Regions from separate parts of the Homo sapiens genome. Here region 1 is linked to region 2. Evidence: promoter capture Hi-C in human tissues and cell types (Jung and others, 2019). All regions are on one chromosome and are shown on one strand. Each heading gives the region's core, a stretch centred on a gene start or on the middle of the fragment in contact. The rest is flanking DNA. Distances are from core to core; before and after follow the strand shown.

What was found. Contacts are between HindIII fragments. The study calls those that stand out against the background at their distance.
Region 1: a fragment that was not itself captured here is called in contact with the fragment with the promoter of BNIPL in region 2 in 1 of the 25 tissues and cell types used here (lymphoblastoid cells).

Annotation. Positions count from the first base shown.
Region 1 is chr1:150,477,240-150,482,213 of GRCh38, forward strand. No RefSeq gene overlaps it. Among named protein-coding and RNA genes, the nearest start is that of TARS2, 7.7 kb to the right of the region's middle. The HindIII fragment of the contact is 7,423 bases long and covers 1-4,974 here.
Region 2 is chr1:151,034,798-151,040,251 of GRCh38, forward strand. BNIPL (BCL2 interacting protein like) reads left to right here and starts at 1,789. Exons shown (of 10, transcript NM_138278.4): 1 at 1,789-1,969; 2 at 2,770-2,865; 3 at 3,707-3,771; 4 at 3,999-4,229. The coding sequence starts at 1,929. PRUNE1 (prune exopolyphosphatase 1) reads left to right here. Exons shown (of 8, transcript NM_021222.3): 8 at 1-916. The HindIII fragment of the contact is 8,096 bases long and covers 1-2,664 here.

The sequences.
Region 1 (4,974 bases), core at 667-3,166, 560 kb before region 2:
TTCAAAAGGTTGTGCAACTGTGAGCCAAGAAGCATTTTTAAAGCAAGCATAGAATTGGGGGTTTGGGGTGGTAGCAGGGATCCTTCTGGCCAATTATTTGCCCACATCTGCCCTTACTGCATATTGGCAATCTGTTGTGCAGAAGCCACACTTAACCCTTCTGTCTTACCCCATCCCTTGTTCATAACCCAGTGAGGCTGGGTTGGAATGCTGGCTGTAAGGGGTAAAGAGGGATAGTCACTGCATCTGGGCCAGGCCTGGGTCACTGGCAGGGTAGAAGGCTCTAAATAGCAGCCTTGCTTATGTGAAGGTACGTACATGTGTCACCAGACACTTAAATAGCAGTGGCCTGGGAACACACCCAGCAGGTAGGGTGTACCACTGTACTGGAATCTGGCTCACCCTTTTTTTCCTTGTCTCTTGGGACCTTGACTTGCCCACCTGATTTCTATATCTACCCCTAAAGAAGCAACAGCTTTGAGACTTCCTCATAAGGTTTTCTGGGCATGTTATTCATAATTTCCTCTGCCTAATTTTTTTTTTTAATGTAAGCCAATCTTGTGTAGCAGGGATGAGTTATTCCTTCATGTATGTAGACGTAGCAATGCAAACACAATCAGAATGGGTTTTGGGGTATTGGGGCGTTTCTCATACTTGTTTATGAGTAACTGTATGGACAAGTCCGGTCAGCTGCTGTTCACAATTGCTAAGTAATAACTCACTGAGGCTGCATAGGCAAGGCTACGAGAGGGTCATCAGTAAGAGAGATATTGGCCCTTAAGTAAACATCCTGTTCTGTCTTCCCCATGTAGAAGGAAATAGAAGCACTCTAAAGCAAAGAAGCAAGTGCAGTGTAAAACTATCAGTTACTTTTAATTAATTGCTGGGGAAAGAAAGGAGAAGCCTTTGCTTAGTTACAAGTTTGAGGGGAAGAGGATAAGAAGGCCAACATCTATGTAAAAGTTGATCATTGCAGTTACAGTCAACCCTCCTCGGTATCCATGAAGGATACCAGGTTCCAGGACCCCCATGGATACCAAAATCCACAGATGCTCAAGTCCCCTACATACAATGGCATAGTATTTGCATATAACCTACACACATCATCCAGTAAATTTTAAATCATCTCTAGATTACTAATACCTAATACAATGTGAGTGCTATGTACATAGTTGTATACAGTATGTTTTGAAATTTGTGTTACTTTTAATTTTTTTATTACCTTTTCCTGAATACTTTTGTGGTTGGTCGAATCCATAGATGCAGAACCCCCAGACAGAGCCAACTGTACATTTCCTTTTTTAAATGTTACGTTTTTCTATCCTTTGTTCACACCTAGGGAAGAATCAAAAATTGAGAATACAGATATGGGTGGAGGGGCTAGTGAATTCTTCAGTGCCAACTGAGGAAACACAAATACAGACTAGGCGTGGTGGCTCACGCTTGTAATCCCAGCACTTAGGGAGGCTAAGGCGGGCAGATCGCTTGAGATCAGGAGTTCAAGACCAACCTGGACAATATGACAAAGCCCTGTCTACTAAAAATACAAAAATTAGGGCCAGGCGTGGTGGCTCACGCCTGTAATCCCAGCACTTTGAGAGGCCAAGGCAGGCGGATCACGAGGTCAGGAGTTTGAGACCAGCCTGGCCAATATGGTGAAACCCCATCTCTACTAAAAATACAAAAATTAGCTGGGCGTGGTGGCACGCGCCTGTAATCCCAGCTACTCAGGAGGCTGAGGCAGGAGAATCGCCTAAACCTGGGAGGCGGAGGTTGCAGTGAGGCAAGATCGCACCACTGCATTCCAGCCTGGGTGACAGAGCAAGACTCTGTCTCGGAGTGGGGGGAGGGGGGGACATTAGCTGGGCATGGTGGCACGCACCTGTAATCCCAGCTACTTGGGAGGCTGAGGCAGGAGAATCGCTTGAACCCGGGAAGCAGAGGTTGCAGTGAGCCAAGATTGTGCCATTGCACTCCAGCCTGGGTGACAGAGTGAGACGCCGTCTCAAAAGGAAAACACAAATGCAGGTTGCAGGTTTTTGTGTTTGACTTGAGAGTTGGCTAAACCAGTCTACCCTGGACATGTTCAGGGTCATGGTAAATTGGATATTCCAGCGATCTTCCTTCCTCATCCCCATTGTGTCCCCTTATTTTCGAGAATTACTCATATCCTTTGCCACATAATTTGTGGGAGAGGAGAGAAAAGGACTTGAAACTTGCTACATTTTTCTTGGGGTGTTTCAGTTGGAATGGGTAGAAAGGAGACCGACAGCATCCCTTTCCTCTGTTTCTCCCTCCTCCCTGGCTAACAGTCCTTTGCACCTACATGAGACAACACTGAAGATAGTCAATCATTGCCAGGGGCAATAGTGATTAGGAAATGATTTGAAATCTTTATTATTTAGAAGTGAGCCTCAGTTGTATGCAGGTTGAGCATCCCAAATCCAAAGTCCAAAATCTGAGCACGAAAATGACACTCAAAGGAAATGCTCATTGGAGGATTTCGGATTTTCAGATTAGGGATGCTCAAGCAGTAAGTATAATGCAAATATTCCAAAATCTGAAAAGATTCAAAATCAGACACTTTTGGTCCCAAATATTTCAAATAAGGATACTCAACCTGTATTTCCTTCTACAGATGTTATCTAGGACCTTCTTTTAGAGTACTTTGTCCTTCCCTTTGTTTTTTACTTTAGCGTGGAACCTAAATGGACACATCCCTACCCTAGACTAGCTCCTGTGTTTGGCGGATCTCCTCTTTTTGCCCTGACCTGACATATCAGTTGTGTAAGAGCTGGGGTGGGAGTGTCTGCTTGTTTTTCTTCTACAGCCCCAAGAGATGTTCTGGGAAGGGAAATCTTAGTAGAGATTTTAGGTGAGCCCAAGGGTTTGTTTTCAAAGTCAAAGTTCAATTTATCCATGCCCCTGACAGAAAGCTTTTACCTCTTTACTCATTCAGCAAATGTGGCTGAACATTCTCTCCCATTGTGGCTTTTCTTTTTTTTTTTTAATAGAGACAGGGTCATGCTTTGTTGCCCAGGTTGGTCATAAACTCCTGGGCTCAAGCAGTCCTCCTGCCTTGGCCTCCCAAAATGCTGGGATTACAGACATGAGGCACTGTTCCCGGACACATTGTGGCATTTTATTTTATTGATTTTATTTTTATTTTATTTATTTTATTTTTTGAGACGGAGTATCATTCTTTTTTGCCCAGGCTGGAGTGCAATGGCGAAATCTAGGCTCACTGCAACCTCTGCCTCCCAGGTACAAATGATTCTCCTGCCTCAGTCTCCCAAGTAGCTGGGATTATAGGCATGTGCCACCATGCCTGGCTAATTTTTTTTTTTATTATTATTTAGTAGAGACAGGGTTTTACCATGTTGGTCACGCTGGTCTAGAACTCCTGACCTCAGGTGATCCACCCACCTCGGCCTCCCAAACTGCTGGGATTACAGGCGTGAGCCACTGTGCCCGGCCTGATTTTATTTTATTTTATTTTATTTTATTAATTTTGAGATGGAGTTTCACTCTTGTCACCCAGACTGGAGTGCAATGGCGCGATCTCGGCTCACTGCAACCTCCACCTCCTGGTTCAAGCAATTCTGCCTCAGCCTCCCAAGTAGCTGGGATTACAGGTGCCCACCACCACGCCCAGCGAATTTTTGTATTTTTAGTAGAGACGGTGTTTCGCCATGTTGGCCAGGCTAGCCTCAAACTCCTGGCCTCAAGTGATCCACCCGCCTTGGCCTCCCAAAGTGCTGGGATTACAGGCATGAGCCACCATGCCCAGCCCTTTTATTTTATTTTTAGAGACGGGGGCCTCACTCTGTTGTACATGCTGGAGTGCAGTGTCATAATCATAGCTCACTGTAACCCAACTCCTGGGCTGAAGCAACTCTCACCTCAGCCTCCTGAGTAGCTGGGACTACAGGCATGCACCACCATGCCCAGCTAATTTTTTTTATTTTTGTAGAGATGGGATCTCACTATGTTATCCAGGCTGGTCTTGAATTCCTGGGTTCAAACGGTCCTCTGCCTTGGCTTCCCAAAGTGCTGGGATTATAGGTGTGGGGCACCATGCCCAGCCTATGATGGCATTTTAAAGCAAAGTTAAAGATTGGCCCCATCCCAGATCTTCCACTTACATTACTAGGGAATTATTTTTTAAAAAATAAACCTAACTTCCCTACCACTTGTGCCTTTAGCCACTTGGCTACTTCTCTGGGCCCCAAAGGTTTTTGTTAGCAATGACATAATCCTTTCTTTTCTTTCTTTTTTTTTTTCTTTTTTTTTTTTTTTTTTTGAGACGGAGTCTTGTTCTGTCTCCCAGGTTGGAGTGCAGTGGCATGATCTTAATTCCTTGCAACCTCCACCTCCCAGGTTCAAGCGATTCTCCCGCCTCAGCCTCCCGAATAGCTGGGACTACAAGCGTGCACCACCATGCCCAACTAATTTTTTGTGTTTTTAGTAGAGATGGGTTTCACCATGTTGGCCAGGCTGGTCTTGAACTCCTGACCTCAAGTGATCTGCTCACCTCACCCTCCCAAAGTGCTGGGATTACGGGTATGAGCCACCACACCCGGCCTCATAATCCTTTCTTTATATATTTTACCTTATTCCTTTTTTTTTAACCTCTAATATCTTTTTTTTTTCCTTTGAGACGGATTCTTGTTTGGTTGCCCAGGCTGGAGTGCAGTGACACGATCTCGGCTCACTGCAATCTCTGCCTCTGGGGTTCAAGTGATTCTCCCACCTCAGCCTCCCAAGTAGCTAGGACTACAGGCATGCGCCACCACGCCAGGCTTTTTTTTTTTTTTTTTTTTTTTTTTTTTTGAGACAGAGTCTCTCTCTGTCACCCAGGCTGGAGTGCGGTGGCGCAATCTCGGCTCACTGCAAGCTCCGCCTCCCGGGTTCACGCCATTCTCCTGCCTCAGCCTCCCAAGTAGCTGGGATTACAGGCATGTGCCACCACAC
Region 2 (5,454 bases), core at 539-3,038:
GCTGAATTTCTATTCTTAGCTTATTGTGACTGTTTCAGATCTAGTTTGGGAACAGATTAGAGGCCATTGTCTTCTGTCCTGATCAGGTGGCCTGGCTGTTTCTTTGGATCCCTCTGTCCCAGAGCCACCCAGAACCCTGACTCTTGAGAATCAAGAAAACACCCAGAAAGGCCTTAATGACCTCATAGGCACTCTTCCAAAAAGACAACAGAACTGGAATGAGAGGCCTGGGTCTGTCTCCTGCCTTAGCAGGCCTATCAATTTCTTGTCAATCTCTTTTTTTCCTTGCTCACATTAAAAGGAAGCATGGAGTTCTAATGCTCCCATAAACTATGTATTTTGGCAAGACACTTCACTACTCCAGGTCTCACTTTCCCCATCTGTAAAACAGGGTTTGGACTAGGTGTTCCCTGGTATTCTGTGATCTGCCTCTTGCTGCCATTCTTTCTCTCCTCTGCTTCTCTGTATTTTTCTTCTGTTATCCCTGGGGGTGCTCAGGTTCACTTGATTGTCTGTATTTCTGTGTGGTTGTAGCAAGGACTCAGCCTCATGTAGCACGAATAGGGGTGTGGTTCATGGCGTGTTGACCCAGCAGAGCACTCCCTCCCACTAACTTGTTCTGCATGTGTAGAGTCTCCCCATTTTTTTTAACGCAACCCTTTCCCCTTTTTCCTACCCCACAGCTCTGTTCCATGTAAGTTGCCAACAGTTTCACTGAACAGTGGGGTATGTGATGGTTTTGGCATGACATCTTCAGTATGAGGGGGACAGTTTGACTTCACTTTGAGGGTGTGATGTCTGTAGCTATGTGGAAGGTAAAAATAGTGGTGTGATCATGAACCAAAGGAATTTATGTTTTGTAACTTGGGTACTTTATTTTGCATTTTGTTATACTATTAAATAATTTTTTCCTGTTTGGGGGTCTTACTGTCTTTTTTTACAAGTGTATTCAGGCCTTTCTCTGTGATAGTTGTTTCAGTCTCCTCAAAATTGATCCCCCTTCTTCCTACTATACTTAATGTCTTCTTTCTGTTGACTCTTTTTGGGAATAAGGAGCAACAGGCTTCTGTCTCCCCTCATCCTCAGCCTCCCGTTCAACTTGTTTATTCTCCCAGAAACCTCCTTATAACATACTTCCGTTTCCCCAGTTTTCCTTATGCTTGAAAAGTAGATCCAAGATAACAGTCCTAGAAACACACACAATGGTTTCTTTTTCTTTTTTTTTTTTTTTTTGAGATGGAGTTTTGCTCTTTTTGCCCTGGCTGGAGTGCAATGGCACAATCTCAGCCCACTACAACCTCTGCCTCCCAGGTTCAAGCGATTCTCCTGCCTCAGCCTCCCAAGTAGCTGGGATTATAGGCATGTGTCACCACGCCCAGATAATTTTTTTTTTTTTTTTTTTTTTTTTTTTTTTTTGGATTTTTAGTAGAGATGGGGTTTCTCCACATTGGTCAGGCTGGTCTCAAACTCCCGACCTCAGGTGATCCGCCTGCCTTGGCCTCCCAAAGTGTTGGGATTACAGGTGTGAGCCACCACGCCCGGCCAGAAACACAACGGTTTCTACTGGTTTTTTTGCTTATTTGTGTAAAGAGCAACTTTGAGAGGGATATATGGAGTCTGGAAAGGAGAACAAATTGCCTTCCTAGACTCAACCGAGACTGGCCCCCACTAGAAAATGCACTCTCCTCCCCAAAACCCGCCCCCTCACAGGAGGCAGGGTTTTTCTTTTGGGCAAACCTGCTCCTGGGGAGAGGAGTGGCAAAACCTGTTTTGAAGATGAGGTTACCTCCCTTCCACACCTCCCTCCTTGGAGGCAAGAGCTACAACAGCTGAGACAGAAAAGAGGTAAGGAAGTGTTGGGGGCTGGGACAACCAGCTCCCCAACAACTCCTAGGTGTTTAAAGAAGGAGGCAGGAAGACTTGTGAAGATGGGAACTATACAAGAGGCAGGAAAAAAGACAGATGTTGGGTAAGTAAGATCTTGGCTCACTTGATTGGTAACAGTGAATAAACAGTCCGGAGAGACTTCCCCACCACCCAGCTCTTACTGGGTCAAATCTCGGGTTCCTCAAGGAGACAAGACTGTAAGAGAGTTTGCAGAGAAGAGATGAGGGTGGTTTTAGGTAGGAAATGTCAGTATGGTATGGAACTGGGGAACAGGATTCCAGGATAATTCCCTGGTTTAAAAATAAAGGAAGTTTCTGTAATATGTTGTACCTGATAAATCTGCCTGTGTTCTTTTATTTTCTAACCCTCACCCTCCAGAATGGCCATCAGGAAAGCTGAACCAGAACCGAGTTTAGGTCCAGGTTCTCGTTCTGGCAAATCTTTCTCCTTACCTTCTTCCTCCACCCCTCCACTTATGCCATGTTTTCCCTTAGCCACTCCCCAGCTCGGTGGAGGAAAGGCAGGCCTAACTAGGTACCGTCTTCCCGACTTTGCTCAATGATAGCTGGGTGGGTCTAGCTGGGTTCCAGCCACTTGTAATGTGGGACATCTCTCACCCCAACTTTGTAGGTGGAGCAACTGCTACAGAGGTAAATATGATTAACTTTACATTCCATCTTTCGTCTGCTCCCAAACTTAACAGCAGGTAATCTGCTTCTAGCAAGTGGTGAAGGTAAGAGAAGCATCTGTATAGGAGGCAAGAGATCTGAGTCCTTTTGAAGGCCTATCCTCTGCTCTGTATCTCAATTACTGTTCTTCATTTCAATTATTCTTACCTACTATTCAGTTCCCTTGATCTTTTCTTCTTGGGGGCTGTCTTAGGGTCAGGGAGATTGCAGAAGCACCAGAACTAGGAGCAGCCCTGAGACATGGGGAGTTGGAGCTGAAGGAGGAATGGCAGGATGAAGAATTCCCTAGGTGAGGACGTGTGAGGGTGGCTGGGAGAAGGGAGGGGTGGTCACGAATGGACGGAGGGGATGGCGCGGCGGCTCATGGCTGTAATCCCAGCACTTTGGGTGGCCGAGGCGGGTGGATCACCTGAGGTCAGGAGTTTGAGACCAGCCTGACCAACACGGTGAAATCCCGTCTCTACTAAAAATACAAAATTAGCCAGGTGTGGTGGCACATGCCTGTAATCCCAGCTACTCGGGAGGCTGAGGCAGGAGAATCACTTGAACCTGGGAGGCAGAGGTTGTAGTGAGCTGAGATTGTGCCATTACACCCGAGCTTGGGCAACAAGAGTGAAACTCTGTCTCAAAAAAAAAAAAAAAAAAAAAAAAAAAAAGCAAATGGACACAGGGATGGTGAATTAGGACTTGAAGGAAAAAAATGGGAAAAAGAAAACAGAGGCCGGGCGTGGTGGCTGATGCCTGTAATCCCAGCACTTTGGGAGGCCGAGGCAGGTGGATCACTTGAGCTCAGAAGTTCAAGACTACTCTGGGCAACATGGCATAACCCCATCTCTACAAAAATACAAAATTTAGCCAAGTGTGGTGGTGCACACCTGTAGGCCCAGCTACTCGGGAGGCTGAGGTGGGAGGACCGCTTGAACCCTGGAGGTAGAGGCTGCAGTGAGCTGTGATTGTGCCACTGCATTCCAGCCTGGGCAACAGAGTGAGACCCTGTCTCAAAAAAACAATTAAAAAAAAAAGCAGCATAGGTGATAAAATCATGGTGGGGAGAGAGAACCTATATATTGAGTCCTGGCTTGATGCCTTTGGTGTATATGTCTGCCGCCTTTTAATCTCTTCCCCTCTAGATTGCTTCCTGAGGAGGCTGGCACTTCTGAAGATCCTGAAGACCCTAAAGGAGATTCACAGGCAGGTAGGTCAAGTAGAAACCAGGCCTCAAGTTCTTGATTCTAGTCCAGTAAAGGGCTATGCCACCTCTATCCTTTTACAGTTCCATTTCCCCCTTTTCCCAAATCTCCCCTGCGTGAGTCCTTCTTCAGCATTCACCCCATATTATCACTTTCACATACAGGAATTCTAGCCCTCTCGGCTCTCCAACACACACACCCATCTTGGTTCTCTTTTTCCCCCTTTCTCCAGCTGCAGGTACCCCCAGCACTTTAGCCCTGTGTGGCCAGCGCCCCATGCGCAAGCGTCTTTCTGCCCCAGAGTTGCGGCTGAGTCTGACTAAGGGGCCTGGAAATGATGGAGCTTCACCCACCCAGTCTGCACCTTCCTCTCCTGATGGCAGTTCTGACCTGGAGATAGACGAATTGGAGACACCTTCAGACTCGGAGCAGCTGGACAGTGGACATGAATTTGAATGGGAAGGTGGGAAACAAACCAGAGGACTCAGCTGGTAGAAGTAGAGGCTAGAGCTAAAGGATCAGGATGGACTTAATGGGACTGCAGTTAGAACTAATAAGGTGGGACCAAGGGCTACGGCCAGCAAAATTAGTTTCCTCAAATGGAACTTGGGCTTATAGGTCCAATGTGAGAGTAGTCAGTAGAGGGGGAGGGGAGCCCATTGTTTATTAAGGAAAATTTAATTGAATGCCTGTTACATACTATCATGTATAGGACTGGGGTTATAAAGATGAATAAGAGAGGGCCTACAGGGAATTCTCTGCTTAGTAGGAAATAAACATATATAAAAATAATTGCAGTTAAAGGTTATGATCTATATATGTGTAGGGTACAGTGTAGACAGGGAGAAGGAAAAGGTCAGTTCTGCCTGAGAGATGTTAGGAAAGGCTTCATGAAGGAGATGATTCTGAGCTAAGTGTTGAAAACTGAAGCTGACATTTATCAGGTAGTTGGAGAGAGGGCATTCTAAGGAGAAGAAGCAGAAGCAACTCAAGCAATAGCATGGCATGTTGGGGAATTCAAAGTATGAGCATGACTATTTTAATATGAAGGGCCGGGAGGTGAAGAGAGAATGACAAAAGATAGTGCTGCTGGGTTAAGTAGAAAAAGGTCACATCATGGAGGCCCTTGCTGCCATGATAAGGAGTTTAGGTTTTATCTTATAGACAATAGGGAGTCATGATAAGTTTTTTTGTTTTTTGTTTTTGATACAGAGTCTTGCCCTGTTGCCCAGGCTAGAGTAGAGTGGTGTGATATAGGCTTACTGCAACGTCTGCTTCCTGGGTTCAAGTGATTCTTGTTCCTCAGCCTCCTGAGTAGCTGAGATTACAGATGTGTGCTATCACGTGTGGCTAATTTTTATATTTTTAGTAGAGATGGGGTTTCGCCATGTTGGCCAGGCTGATCTTGAGCTCCTGGCCTCAAGTGATCCACCTGCCTTGGCCTCCCAGTGTGCTGGGATTACAGGTGTGAGCCACCATGCCTGGCCCAGTAAGGTTTTAATCAAAGGAGTAACATGATCAAATTTAATGACTCTGAAAAGATTGGAAACAACCTAAAGATCCAGCAGTAAGGTATTACGTTTGTTATGGTGCATCCATCCAGTGGAATACTAAATACTAGGCAACATTTTGTTTTTGAGACAGTCTTGCTCTGTTGCCCAGTCTGGAGTGCAATGGCACAATCTTGC